3 separate regions of the Homo sapiens genome follow, and all the other regions are linked to region 3. Evidence: promoter capture Hi-C in human tissues and cell types (Jung and others, 2019). All regions are on one chromosome and are shown on one strand. The core of a region is centred on a gene start or on the middle of the fragment in contact, and the rest is flanking DNA. Distances in the headings are between cores, read along the strand shown.

What was found. Contacts are between HindIII fragments. The study calls those that stand out against the background at their distance.
Region 1: a contact is called between the fragment with the promoter of UBXN6 here and the fragment with the promoter of ZBTB7A in region 3, in 1 of the 25 tissues and cell types used here (bladder).
Region 2: the fragment with the promoter of PIP5K1C here is called in contact with the fragment with the promoter of ZBTB7A in region 3 in 1 of the 25 tissues and cell types used here (stomach).

The regions. Positions count from the first base shown.
Region 1 is chr19:4,455,515-4,459,409 of GRCh38, forward strand. It overlaps UBXN6 (UBX domain protein 6), which reads right to left and starts at 2,280. Exons shown (of 11, transcript NM_025241.3): 1 at 2,101-2,280. The coding sequence starts at 2,183. RefSeq lists silencers at 2,082-2,151, 2,182-2,231 and an enhancer at 2,342-2,541. The HindIII fragment of the contact is 9,046 bases long and covers 1-3,895 here.
Region 2 is chr19:3,698,760-3,702,645 of GRCh38, forward strand. PIP5K1C (phosphatidylinositol-4-phosphate 5-kinase type 1 gamma) reads right to left here and starts at 1,709. Exons shown (of 18, transcript NM_012398.3): 1 at 1,538-1,709. The coding sequence starts at 1,631. RefSeq lists an enhancer at 766-1,549 and silencers at 1,248-1,387, 1,468-1,957. The HindIII fragment of the contact is 9,003 bases long and covers 1-3,886 here.
Region 3 is chr19:4,065,446-4,069,344 of GRCh38, forward strand. It overlaps ZBTB7A (zinc finger and BTB domain containing 7A), which reads right to left and starts at 1,454. Exons shown (of 3, transcript NM_015898.4): 1 at 1,237-1,454. RefSeq lists silencers at 1-754, 1,235-1,434, 1,445-1,494, 1,535-1,594, 1,805-1,914 and 2 more. The HindIII fragment of the contact is 23,363 bases long and covers 1-3,899 here.

The sequences.
Region 1 (3,895 bases), core at 1,030-3,529, 390 kb after region 3:
GACCCTTCTGGAACCTCAGCCAGGGAGCGTCAGCATCACTCCACTGCACAACGCCCTCCCACTGCAAAATCCTAAAGCTTCCCTTGGCCAGAGAGCCCTTCCCAGCCTGGCCCACTGCCCTCCCGTGGCCTGTCTCCCCTGGGCTCCCCGCAGTTCTTCCCACACCCCAGCTGCTCCCCACTGCAGGCCCCTGCACTGTCTGCACCTTCTGCCCAGAATGTTCTCCGGGGGAGTGGGAGGAGGATGGGGGTCTGGAAAGGGCTAGAGCTGCCGCAGGGAGAGAAGGAGGGGCAGATTTCCCCACAGCTGAGTCTCACTGTGTCCTGGGAGAGGCCTTCCCAAACCACCTGACGGCCCCTGCTCACCCTCCTTGGAGGCCCTGGGCACTCATCCAAGCACTCATCGCCTGAGCGCTCATCCAAGGTCTGTTGGTTTATTTGTCCATCGGCTCCCTCTAGAAGGTGAGCCCTGGGACAGCAGAGGCCTTCTCCTGTCCACCACTGCAGCCTAAAACAGGACTTGGTGCCCACCCACCCCACACACCCTGGATATGCAGTCTCGCTCCACAAGGGACCTCCGCACCGCTTCCTTTCCCAACCTTCCCCTCCAACCTTCCCCTCTCCGCCCAGGCTCTGGGCTGATCCAGCCATCACCCCGATACCCTGCATCCTTCCTATCATGCCCAGTCCCAGTGGCCCCAGCACCCCCCACCCACTATTGGTTGAATCAATGAAGGGCTCCCCCGATTTGCCCCCTTCTCTCCCTGACCCCTCTCCCTCCCTCACTCAGCCTTTGCTCTCCTGCTCTCCCCCAGGAACCCTGACGTCCTCACTATGCCCCTACCTCCATCACCACCCCACTGCCCCGTGATTCCTGACCCCCACTTCCTGCCACCTCCCTGCCTCTCCCAGCCCCCACTCCCTCACAATCCCTTCCACTATTGCTTACAGACCCGTGTCCTGGCTGCCTGGCTGACTTCCTCAGTCCCTCTCCATCAGTCCCCACCACCCTCTGGCCAGCCAGCTCCCTGCAGCGGCCCCAGCTCTCCAGTTTCCCTTTTCTCAACCCAACAGCCCTCAGCCTTGCACCTTCCCTAGCTCCACTTCTTCCCCGGCCCTCCCAGCTGGCTCAGCCCTGCTCAGGCCCTTCTCTCCAAGTCCTCCCTAGACAATCCGGAAGCCTGCCCGGCATCTATCTCCTTTCCCCTCCTCTCCCACTTCCATAATCCACTTGGCACAGTGACGTGGCAGAGAAGCCTCGCAGAGAAGCTCTTTCTCCCAGCCTGCTAAGACGCGTCTGTCTCACCCGTCTTCTCCTCTCAGGCCCCTCCCGGGTAAGAGTCCATCTGTCAGAATCCCTCACCTCCACTCTCCTCACACACCTTCCTCAGCCCCTCCCTCTCAATTCGCCAGGACATCCCAGGTCACTGACGACGCTGCCCACCCCGGCCTCCCTGGCCTTCCAGACTCTTTCTAGTCTCCCATCAGCCTCCCACGTGCTCCAGATACCAAATCCAGAACCCCTCTTCCCATGGATACCTCAAAACAACTCTTCACCACCCCACCCCACAGCTGTGCGTCCTCCTCCAAGCTCAGCTCCCATCCATGGTCACCTAGATTGCCCCAAATCATCCCGGCCTCTTCGGCCAGCCGGGTCCCCAGACAGAGCTCTCCCTCACCACCCGGCTCAGGACTCATGATCCCGTTTTTCCCCAAAGGTCGTTCCACTGACCCCCAACTGCCTACAGCCCCGTCGCCCTAATCCCCCGCCACTGCATCGGACCCTCCTGCGGCCCCGCCCCCGAGACCTCCCCTCCCGCCCCGCCCCCTGCGCTAGTTCCCCTCCCCTCGCCTCCCCCGCCGCGCCCCCGGGTCATACCCGCCCCCTCCTGCCCCGCCCCCAGATCTCTCTCCCCTCCCCCTGACGCCCACCCTCGGCCCGACTTCGTCCGCCCCCGGCGCCTCTCCCCCTCCCCTGACCCTCGCGTGCCGCTCCCAGCCCCTCATCCTCTCCGATCTCCCGAGCCGCCCAAGGCCCCAGATCTCTCTCCCCGGCCGTCCCCGCCCCGCAGGGCCTCAAGCCCCTGCGTTCCTCACGCACCCCACGGACTCTTTGAGCTTCTGACCGGGTCCCGCGCTCTTGAACTTGATGTCGGCCTTGAACTCCTGAAAGAATTTCTTCATGGTGGCGGCTGGCCCGGCGGCGGGGGGCCGCGGGGGCGGGGGGGCACGGGGCCCAGTCGGGGACGGGGCCGCCGGAGACCAGCCACCGGAAGAAAATTAAAAAAAAAAAAAAAAAAAAAAAAAAAATTTACCTCGCCGCCGGAAGTCCCGCCTTCCCCTGGCCTGCCACGTGACAATCGACTAGACGTGCCTCTCTAGCGCTCGGTGCCTTGCTGGCCCAGGGCGGCCGCTCTGTACGCTGGAGCCGCGTCTCTGTGGTTCTTCCGGACTCCGTTGCCAGGGCGACGAGTGCACCTCTCGATTGGAGACAGGGCATTCCGTGGCGCTCCCCAAACGGTGACAAACGGTGATAGGACAGGGACAGGCCAACTGAACCTCGCAGAGAAAGCACTGGGCCCTATCCCTTTCGCTGCTCAACCTAAACTAGGCGCGGTGGCTCACGCCTGCAATCACAGCACTTTGGAGGCTCAAGCGGAAGGATTGCTTGATCCCAGAAGTTGGAGACCAGCCTGGCAACATGGCAAAACCTCGTCTCTATAAAAAAAAAAAAAATAAAATAAAATAAATTAGCCGAGGGTGGTGGCGCGCGCCTCTCAGCTACTTGGGAGGCAGAGGCGGGAGGATCGCTTGAACCCAAGAGGTCGAGGCTGCAGTGAGCTGTGATCAAGCCACTGCATTCCAGCCTGGGCGACAGAGAGAGACCCTGTCTCAAGCAAAACAAAAAAAATTCCAACCTTCTCTGTCTCCCCAGAGCTTACGTGATAAAATCCCAATTCAATGTTGGGTATTGGAGGCCCCCACGATCTGGCCTGTTTTGGTGCCTGAAGCACCCCCCCGCCACCATCACCACGTACCCTAGGTAGGAGCTGTTTAAGAGGATGCACCTGGGCCGGGCGCGGTGGCTCATGCCTGTAATCCCAGCACTTTGGGAGGCCGAAGCGGGCGGATCACAAGGTCAGGAGATCGAGACCATCCTGGCTAACACGGTGATACCCCGTCTCTACTAAAAATACAAAAAATTAGCCGGGCATGGTGGCAGGCGTCTGTACTCACAGCTACTCGGGAGGCTGAGGCAGGAGAATGGCGTGAACCCGCGAGGCGGAGCTTGCAGTGAGCCGAGATCTCACCACTGCACTCCAGCCTGGGCGACAGAGCGAGACTCCGTCTCAAAAAAAAAAAAAAAAAAAAAAAAAGAGGATGCACCCAATGCACCCAATTGGGACCTGGGGATTGGGGATCCACTTTGGTGGACACCAGTTAATAGTGGCGTACTTTGGTCTGTGCAATCCACAAAGAAGATACACAAAGTGACAGTTAAAACAAGCCTCAAAAAATGGGAGTTGGGGGTCAGACGTGGTGGCTCATGCCTCTAATCCCAGCACTTTGGGAGGCCGAGGCCGGCGGATCACTTGAGGTCAGGAGTTTGAGACCAGCCTGGCCAACATGGTGAAAGCCTGTCTCTATGGGCACCGGTAATCCCAGCTACTCGGGAGGCTGAGGCAGGAGAATCGCTTGAACCCGGCAGGTGGAGGTTGCAGTGAGCCGAGATCTCGCCATTGCACTTCAGCCTGGGCAACAGAGGGAGACTCTGCCTCAAAAAAGAAGGAGTTGGAATGAGATACACAGAGACTGATGGAGGAGAAGCCTCCAGGTGAGGAAACAGCCCACCCCAAGACTGAAATTGAAATATCATGGGTTGGACGGGTGGCTCA
Region 2 (3,886 bases), core at 459-2,958, 370 kb before region 3:
AGGCACAACCTAAACTCACCAGCGCTAACATCAGGAGGGATGGCGTTGGAGGAGTGAGGCAACTCTGAATTTTAAACATTCAGAAGCAGTATATGGCCAGCTGGGGTCAGATTTCTGTGGATTTCAGGGATGGGCAGAGATGCCAGACCCTGACCTTCCAGCCCTCCCCGGCCCCCCACCCCCACCCCCCCACTCCCCCGCTCTCCCACCCCACCACCATGCTCAGTCTGGAGCTGGCAACTTTATCTGTCCCCGGTGCTCCCAGAGCCCCTGATAAGATGAATGGTCGCGGTGTGGTTTTCTTTTGGTCAGCGAGTCCTGGGCTACTTTGTCTCTGACCAGCTGGGGTCAGAGGGCTGACAGCGGAAGTTGGGGGGCCCAAGAAAGGAACCCGGGCTGGGGCCTGGTGCCCTGCCTGGGTTCCTCCACCATGTCTCTTGCTGGCCAGGCCAGGACACCGGCTGCCCGCAAAGAAAGGGGCGAGGCCACTGGCTCTGGGGAAGGAACCGGGTCACCTACCAAGCGGTTCCAGATGGCCGCCGGGAGGGAAGCCACGAGTGTCTTTCAAGGCGGGGGGTGGGGGGGGGACTTGATGACTTCCACACTCTCTCTCTCTCCAGACATCTCCCCAACTCCCAGGCAGCACGCATCGCCCGCCCGCCCGCTTGCCCGCCTGCCAACCAAGGAAGCTTCGGGAGGCCTGGGGGGAGAAGGAGGACGGATGCCCGTGTGGGTGTCTACAGAGACGCTGCTGCTGGCTGCCTGGGAGGAGCAGAGGATTTTGTGAATCCGGAAACTTCCGATTTGGGAGCTTGTGACCTCGACTGAGAAGGAACTGTTCCCTTCCTCTGGGCTCTGCACACCGTCCCCACAGAAGGGAAGGCCCAGCTGCCGCCACCTACCCGGCTGGAGGTCCAGGAAGCAGCTAAAGGGGGCATGAGACAGCCGTGCCCCCCGCCCAGCCCGCAGCCCCACCAGTGTGTCCTGGGGGAAGGCTCGGGGAGAGGAAAAGGGGGCGACAGGGCACCCTGTGTGCACAGCCGGGGCGGTGGAGGCATCTTGAGATGTAACCCTTTTCCTCCCCTCATTTTAGCAGGGAGGTAAACTGAGGCCCAGGAAGGTGAGGAAAGGTCGCGCACCCGGACTCAGGTCTGGGGACTTACAGAAAGGGAGGTGACATCAGGAGGTGGGCACGCACGGCCTCAGAGACCCCCGCCTCCACCCAAGCAGCCGCCACTCACACGACGGGCAGCCCCTGGGAGCGGGTCAGGCAGAACGGGGATCCCCAGCGGCGCCCACGCCGAGTCGCCCCCGGCCCGGGAGCGGTGGGAGGTAGCCCCTCGCAGGCCTCCCGCTTCCCGGCGCGGCTTCAGCCCCGTCCTCCCCGCGGCTCCAGGGGACTGCCCCGCCCCAGGCTCCTGGAACCGGCGGCGCCCCCGCAGCGACCGTGCAGCCCCCGCCCCGGCCCCGCAGCCCCGCGACTCTCGGCGCTCGGACGAGCCCAGCGGGCCGCAGCCCCGGGAGGCCGGGCCGTTACCTGCCGCCGCCCCGCTCTCTGCCGCCCACGCCGCCTCCGAGGGCACGGCCCCCGCCTCAGCGCTCTCCGCCTCGTCCGGTACCTCCAGCTCCATGGCCGCGCGCGGACGGCGGCGGGGGCGCCCGAGGGGGACCCGAGCTGCGACCGCCGCCGCCGAACAACAAGCGCCGCCGGCCAAGGGAGGGCGCGCCGGGCCGGCGCGGGGCGGACGGGGCGGGGCCTGCGTGCGTGCGACGCCGCGGACGGCGCGCGGCCAATCGGGGCTCGGGGGCGGGGCCTGCTTGCGACCCGCAGCCAGGAGCGCCTCGAGTGCCCCCTCGCGCCCAGGGGTGGGAGTACAGAGCCAGGCTCGCCATTCCATCGTATTAGGTCAGTAAGATTGACAGGCACGATACGTATCAATAACATTGCTGTGCACAACACATACCAATAACATGGATCTACACAACACATGACAATAATATGGATCTATACAGCACGTGCCAATAATATGGATGTACACAGCACATGCCAATAACATGGATCTAAACAGCACATGCCAATAACAGGGACCTGCACAGCGCATGACAATAACATGGATCTGGCCGGGCGCGGTGACTCACGCCTATATTCCCGGCACTTTGGGAGGCCGAAGAGGGCGGATCACCTGAGGTCAGGAGTTCAAGACCATCCTGACCAACATGGTGAAATCCTGTCTCTACTAAAAATACAAAAAATAGCTGGGCGTGGTGGCACATGCCTGTAATCGCGGCTACTCGGGAGGCTGAGGCAGGAGAATCGCTGGAACCCAGGAGGGAGAGGTTGCAGTGAGCTGAGATCGCACCATTGCCCTCCAGCCTGGGCCACAGAGTGAGACTCTGTCCCAAAAAAAACCACACATGGACCTACACAGCACATGCCAATAACATGGAGTTACCCAATGCATGCCAATAACATGGATATACACAATACATGCCAATAACACGGATATGCACAATACATGCCAATAACATGGATATACACAATACATGCCAATAACATGAATCTATACTATATCATTGACATGGATCTACATAAAACATACAAATAGCATTGCTATATGCAATACATGCCAATCACATTGCTATACACAATGAATACCAATAACATTGATCTACACAATACATGTAACTAACATTGATACACACACTACATGTCAATAACATTGATATACACACTACATGCCAATAACATGGATATACACACTACATGCCAATAACATTGATATACACACTACATGCCAATAACATTAATGTACACACTACATGTCAATAACATTGATATACACACTACATGTCAATAACATTGATATGCACAAAATATACCAATAACAGTGATATACACAGTACATGTAAATAATATTGATCTACACAGGGCCGGGCGCGGTGGCTCATGCCTGTAATCCCAAGACTTTGGGAGGCCGAGGCGGGCGGATCACGAGGTCAGGAGATTGAGACCATCCTGGTTAACATGGTGAAACCCCGTCTCTACTAAAAATACAAAAAATTAGCCAGGCGTGGTGGCGGGCGCCTGTAGTCCCAGCTACTTGGGAGGCTAAGGCAGGAGAATAGGGTGAACCTGGGAGGCAGAGCTTGCAGTGAGCTGAGATCGTGTCACTGCACTCCAGCCTGGGCAACAGAGCGAGACTCCATATCAAAAAAAAATATATATATATATAGATCTACACAATACATGTTATTAACATTGATCTACGCAATACATATCAATAACATTTGCAATTAACTACCTGTTTATTATCATATTGCAAATAATATTTATATTCCATCGTTTGTATTACGTAAGTATAGATATGTTATTGTTTTCTTTATATTATTTTATCAATAATAATACAGTTTGCTATTATAAGAAACATATAATTATAGAAATACATAATAAATTATATATATTTATGCAAATGTAAGTAGCAATATTTATATCCTTCTTTTTTTTTTTTGAGATGGAGTCTTGCTGTTGTTGCCCAGGCTGGAGTGCAGGGGGGCGATCTGAGCTCACTGCAACCTCTGCCTCCAGGGTTCAAGTGATTCTCCTGCCTCACCCTCCCAAGTAACTAGGACTACAGGTACGTGCCACCACGCCCGGCTAATTTTTGTATTTTTAGTAGAGATGAGGTTTCGCCATGTTGGCCAGGCTGGTCTTGAACGCCTGACCTCGTGATCTTCCCGCCTCAGCTTCCCAAAGTGCTGGGATTACAGGTGTGAGCCACTGCGCCCGGCCATATTTATGTTCTTTATATAAGCACATAATAAGGCTTATGTTGTTTATGTTAATTTAAGTAATAACGTTTATATTATTTACATAAATGTAAATCAT
Region 3 (3,899 bases), core at 204-2,703:
CGGCGAGGGGGCCCGGCCCCGGCGGCGGCGGTGGCGGCGGCTGCGGCTGGGCTGGCTCCCTCCGAGGGGCCGGGAGGCGGCAGTGAGCCTGGCCCCGCGCCACCCCCCGCCGCCGGCGGCCAATCCCCACCCGGGCTGGGGGGAGGGCGATGCAAATTACCCCGGATCTGGGTCCGCCCGCCCGCCTCCCCCACGCCCGGGCCCGGCCTGCGCTAGGCCGCGCATCCCCGGGCTCGCCTGCACCGCGCGGCCGCCCGGGCCGCCGCCCTCCCCGGGGAGCGCGGGGAGGGTGACCCCCCCCCCACGGGCGGGGGGCCGAGGGGAGGGGGGCTGGGGACGGTTACACAACCAGGCGGGGAGGGGCCCCGGGGCGGGGAGGGGGCCGGCCCGCGGGCCGCGCAGCCGGAAGCCGGGACCGCCACCGGCCCCCGGCGAGGGGAGCCCGGCTCCAGGCCCCGCCCCCTGGCGGGCTGGCCCCGCCCCCGCGCCGCGCCGCGCGATCGGCCCGCGCCCATTGGCTCTCCGGCCCGCCGCTCACCGCCCCTCCTCCGCACCGCCCCTACCCGCAGGCCGCGGCGGGCTGTCGGCGCGGGGCACCCTGGGACTTGTAGTCCAAGCCGCTTGCCACCTGCCGGCTGCAAACGGCGGAGGGACTACGAAGCCCAGAGGTCCCTGCGGCCCTGCCCGCCCACCCGGACACCCCACCCCTTCCCCCTCCTTTCCGAAGCCCCCCTCCCTGTTTTTTCAGCCCCCTCCCCCCCATCCCCCATGGAGCTCAATCCTGGCCAACTCCAACGTATGCACGCAGCACCGAATAGGCCCCCGGGGGGCGAGAGCGCCCCTCGTCTTCAGCTGGAAACTTAGCAGGCGACGCGCCCCCCTATCTCCCCACGCCGGCTCCCCCCACCCTCAATGCAGCCCTGCTTCCCCTCCCCCGCTCCCCGCGCGCCTGGGAGCCCCGAAAAGCCATGCACCCGGGTTGGGGGGGGCTGGCGCACAAGCTCATGCACTTAGCCCCCAATCCCCCCTTCCCGGGCGGCGCCCCCTCCCCGCGCTCGGGATCCAGGGCGCCTCCAGCCTCCGGGCAGCTGCCAACCACCCCTTCCTCTGAAACTTGGGGGAACGTCCCCGGCTCCCCGGATCTCCCCTTCCCGAGGGGGCAGCGGTGGCCGCAGCGACCCCCGCCCGTCCCCGCCCTGCACCCCGTGCCGGGGGCCGCGCCGGGCGCTGACTTACCTCGCGGGGCCGGGCCGGGGCGCGCGGGGCCGGGGCCCGAAGTTGGGACTGGGCTCCCTCGGCCGCTCGCCTCCGGGGTCCGCGGCGCTCGCTCTGCCCGCGTCGCGCTGCCCTGGTCGCTCCCTCGCGCGGCGGCGGCGGCGTCACTGCCCCTACAGTAACTGTACAGTACAGCCAAAGCCCCGTATGATGCTCGCGACTCCCTTCCTGGTTTCTCCGAGGGCAAGAGGGGTCCTCCCTTGTCTTAAAGGTGCCGCAGCCGCCGGCCCCCCCACGCCCAGCCCGCCCCCCCCAGCCTGGCCTCGGAGGCCAGAACAGGCTCGGCAGGTCCCCTCTTGCCACGTCTCTGCCCTCCCGTGGGGCTTCGCCCGCTGCGCCGGGGAGACCGGGCTGTTATTAGGTTTTGTCAAGTCGGGGGGGGGGGTCCGGCCCGCCCCGGCGCGCCCCCCCGCCTCTGACCTCTCCGCCCCGCCGCGCGGCGCCGTGCCAGCTTGCCAGCTTATCTGGCCCCAGAGCTCCCCGGGGCGCGGGGGGAGCGGGCCCCCCGGGGTGGAGGGGGGGTGGGGGCCTCCAGATAAACAGGCCCCCAGCCTCTGCGCAGGGGCGGGGTGCGGGGGGGCGCGGGCTGTGCCCCCGACGCCCGGGGCGTGGCAGGATGGCAGCGGGGGCGGGGAGCGCGGTGCGCACAGCGAGGAGCGACGCGGGCGTGTGGGTCGCGCGGCCTGGGCTGCCGGGGGTGGGTTGGGGGTGAGGCGGTGGGGATCCCCCCGCAAGGCCAGGCCCTGGGCCTCCCCGGGCCTCAGTGGGACTTGCCGCGCCAGGGACCCCGGGGGGTGGCCTTGCCAAGGACAGCCCGGGTCCGCGGGGCTCCCGGGTCCCTAAATGAAACCACCAACCTGCCCTCCCGCGATTATATAAAGGAGTCGCCTCCACCCCGCTGCGCTAGGGGCGTCAGCGGGGGAAGGGGTTGGCGAGGGGCGGGGAGGGCGGTTGTTTTCCCGGCTTCGCGAGTTCCCCCACCCGGCTGCGGGCCGCGGGGCGGGACGGGGACCGGGCCCTGGACGCCTGGTCCGCGCGGGCCGCTCCTTGGCACAAGGGGGTCTGCATGGCTCGCGAGGGGCGGAGGTGGGGAGTGGGGAGGCGTTGGTTCAGCGCGACTTTTTTTTTTCCCCTGTCCGTTTCTCCCACTTCCTCCCCGGTCGTGGGAGAGGTCCGGCGGGGGACAGGGAAGGGGGAGCAGGGCACGAGTGGTGAGAACGTCCTGGCCCGGCCCGGGGAGGGCTGGCTGGTGCGACCGCGCGCCTGGGGGGGGGGGGGAGGGCTCCAGGACTCAGTTTCCCCTTCCTCATTCCTCCAGACAGAGAGAGTACTGACAGCTGCTTTAGCTGCCGTTTAGTGAGCGCTTATCCAGTGGGTGACCCTGTTCCGGGGCTCACTGTGCCTTCATTCTAACACCTAATCCCAGGGTCATTATTATGTTTTATTATTATCTGGCATTCTTAGTACCAACACCACCTGACAGCGGGAACCACCACCGGCCTGGGTGTAGTGTACCCAGCCTGTCCTCTGACTTCAAAGCCTCTCCTGCGAGAGACACAGTTTATGGCTTCTTCGCACAATTTATTAAAAGCGCCTTTCAACACCCAAACGGGTTGGATTGGCTTTTGTAATAATAATCTGGCTACGAGGGGAAACCCGGGAGGGCCCCCCGGAGGGGAAGTGGACTGTCTCAGGACTCGCAGCCTGAAACCAGCCGGGTAGGTGGGAAGGGACCCAGGGAGGGGCCGCGTGGATCTAGGGCGAGGGTGTCATCCAGGGACTTTGCTCCAAGGACCCTGCCTGGGATAGAAATCCTTCTTCCTTCAACCACCGGCCATCAGCCTCGGGACCAGGAGGCCACGCTGAAGCACGATTCTTCCCAGATCCCACTGTTGTGTTTGGATTTCTGCAAATGATGCCCAGACGTTTTTTTTTGTTTTGTTTTTTTGTTTTTTGTTTTAGACAGACTTGCTCTGTCGCCCAGCCTGGAGTGCAATGGCACGATCTTGGCTTACTGCAATCTCCGCCTCCCGGGTTCAAGCGATTCCCCTGCCTCAGCCTCCTGAGTAGCTGGGATTACAGGCACCTGCCACCACGCCCGGCTAATTTTTTTTTTTTTTTTTGTATTTTTAGTAGATACAGAGTTTTGCCATGTTGGCAAGCCTGGTCTCAAACTCTTGACTTCAGGTGATCCAACCACCTTGGCCTCCCAAAGGGCTGGGATTACAGGCGTGAGCCACCGTGGCTGGCCTTGGTTTTTTTTGTTTGTTTGTTTTGTTTTTTGTTTTTTTAATAGAGATTTGGTGGGGCCGTGGGGGGGTCTTGCTATGTTTCCCAGGTCTCAAACTCCTGGGCTTCAGTGTTCCTCCCACCTGAGCCTCCCACAGTGCTGAGATGACAGGAATGAACCATCGTGCCAGCGAGACGCCCAGGCTCTAAGCTCTACATGGTCTAACTTCCCCCACACCAGGAGCAGCAGGTGACTCAGTTTCCCCTCTTGTACCACCAGCCTCAGATCCGATCCTGCAGGAAAAGGATCGAGAAAGCCCCACTCGGATTCTCCATGGTGAGAACCTGACTCAGAGGGGCAGGGGCTCCTCTGTGAGACGGGCATGGACCCTAAT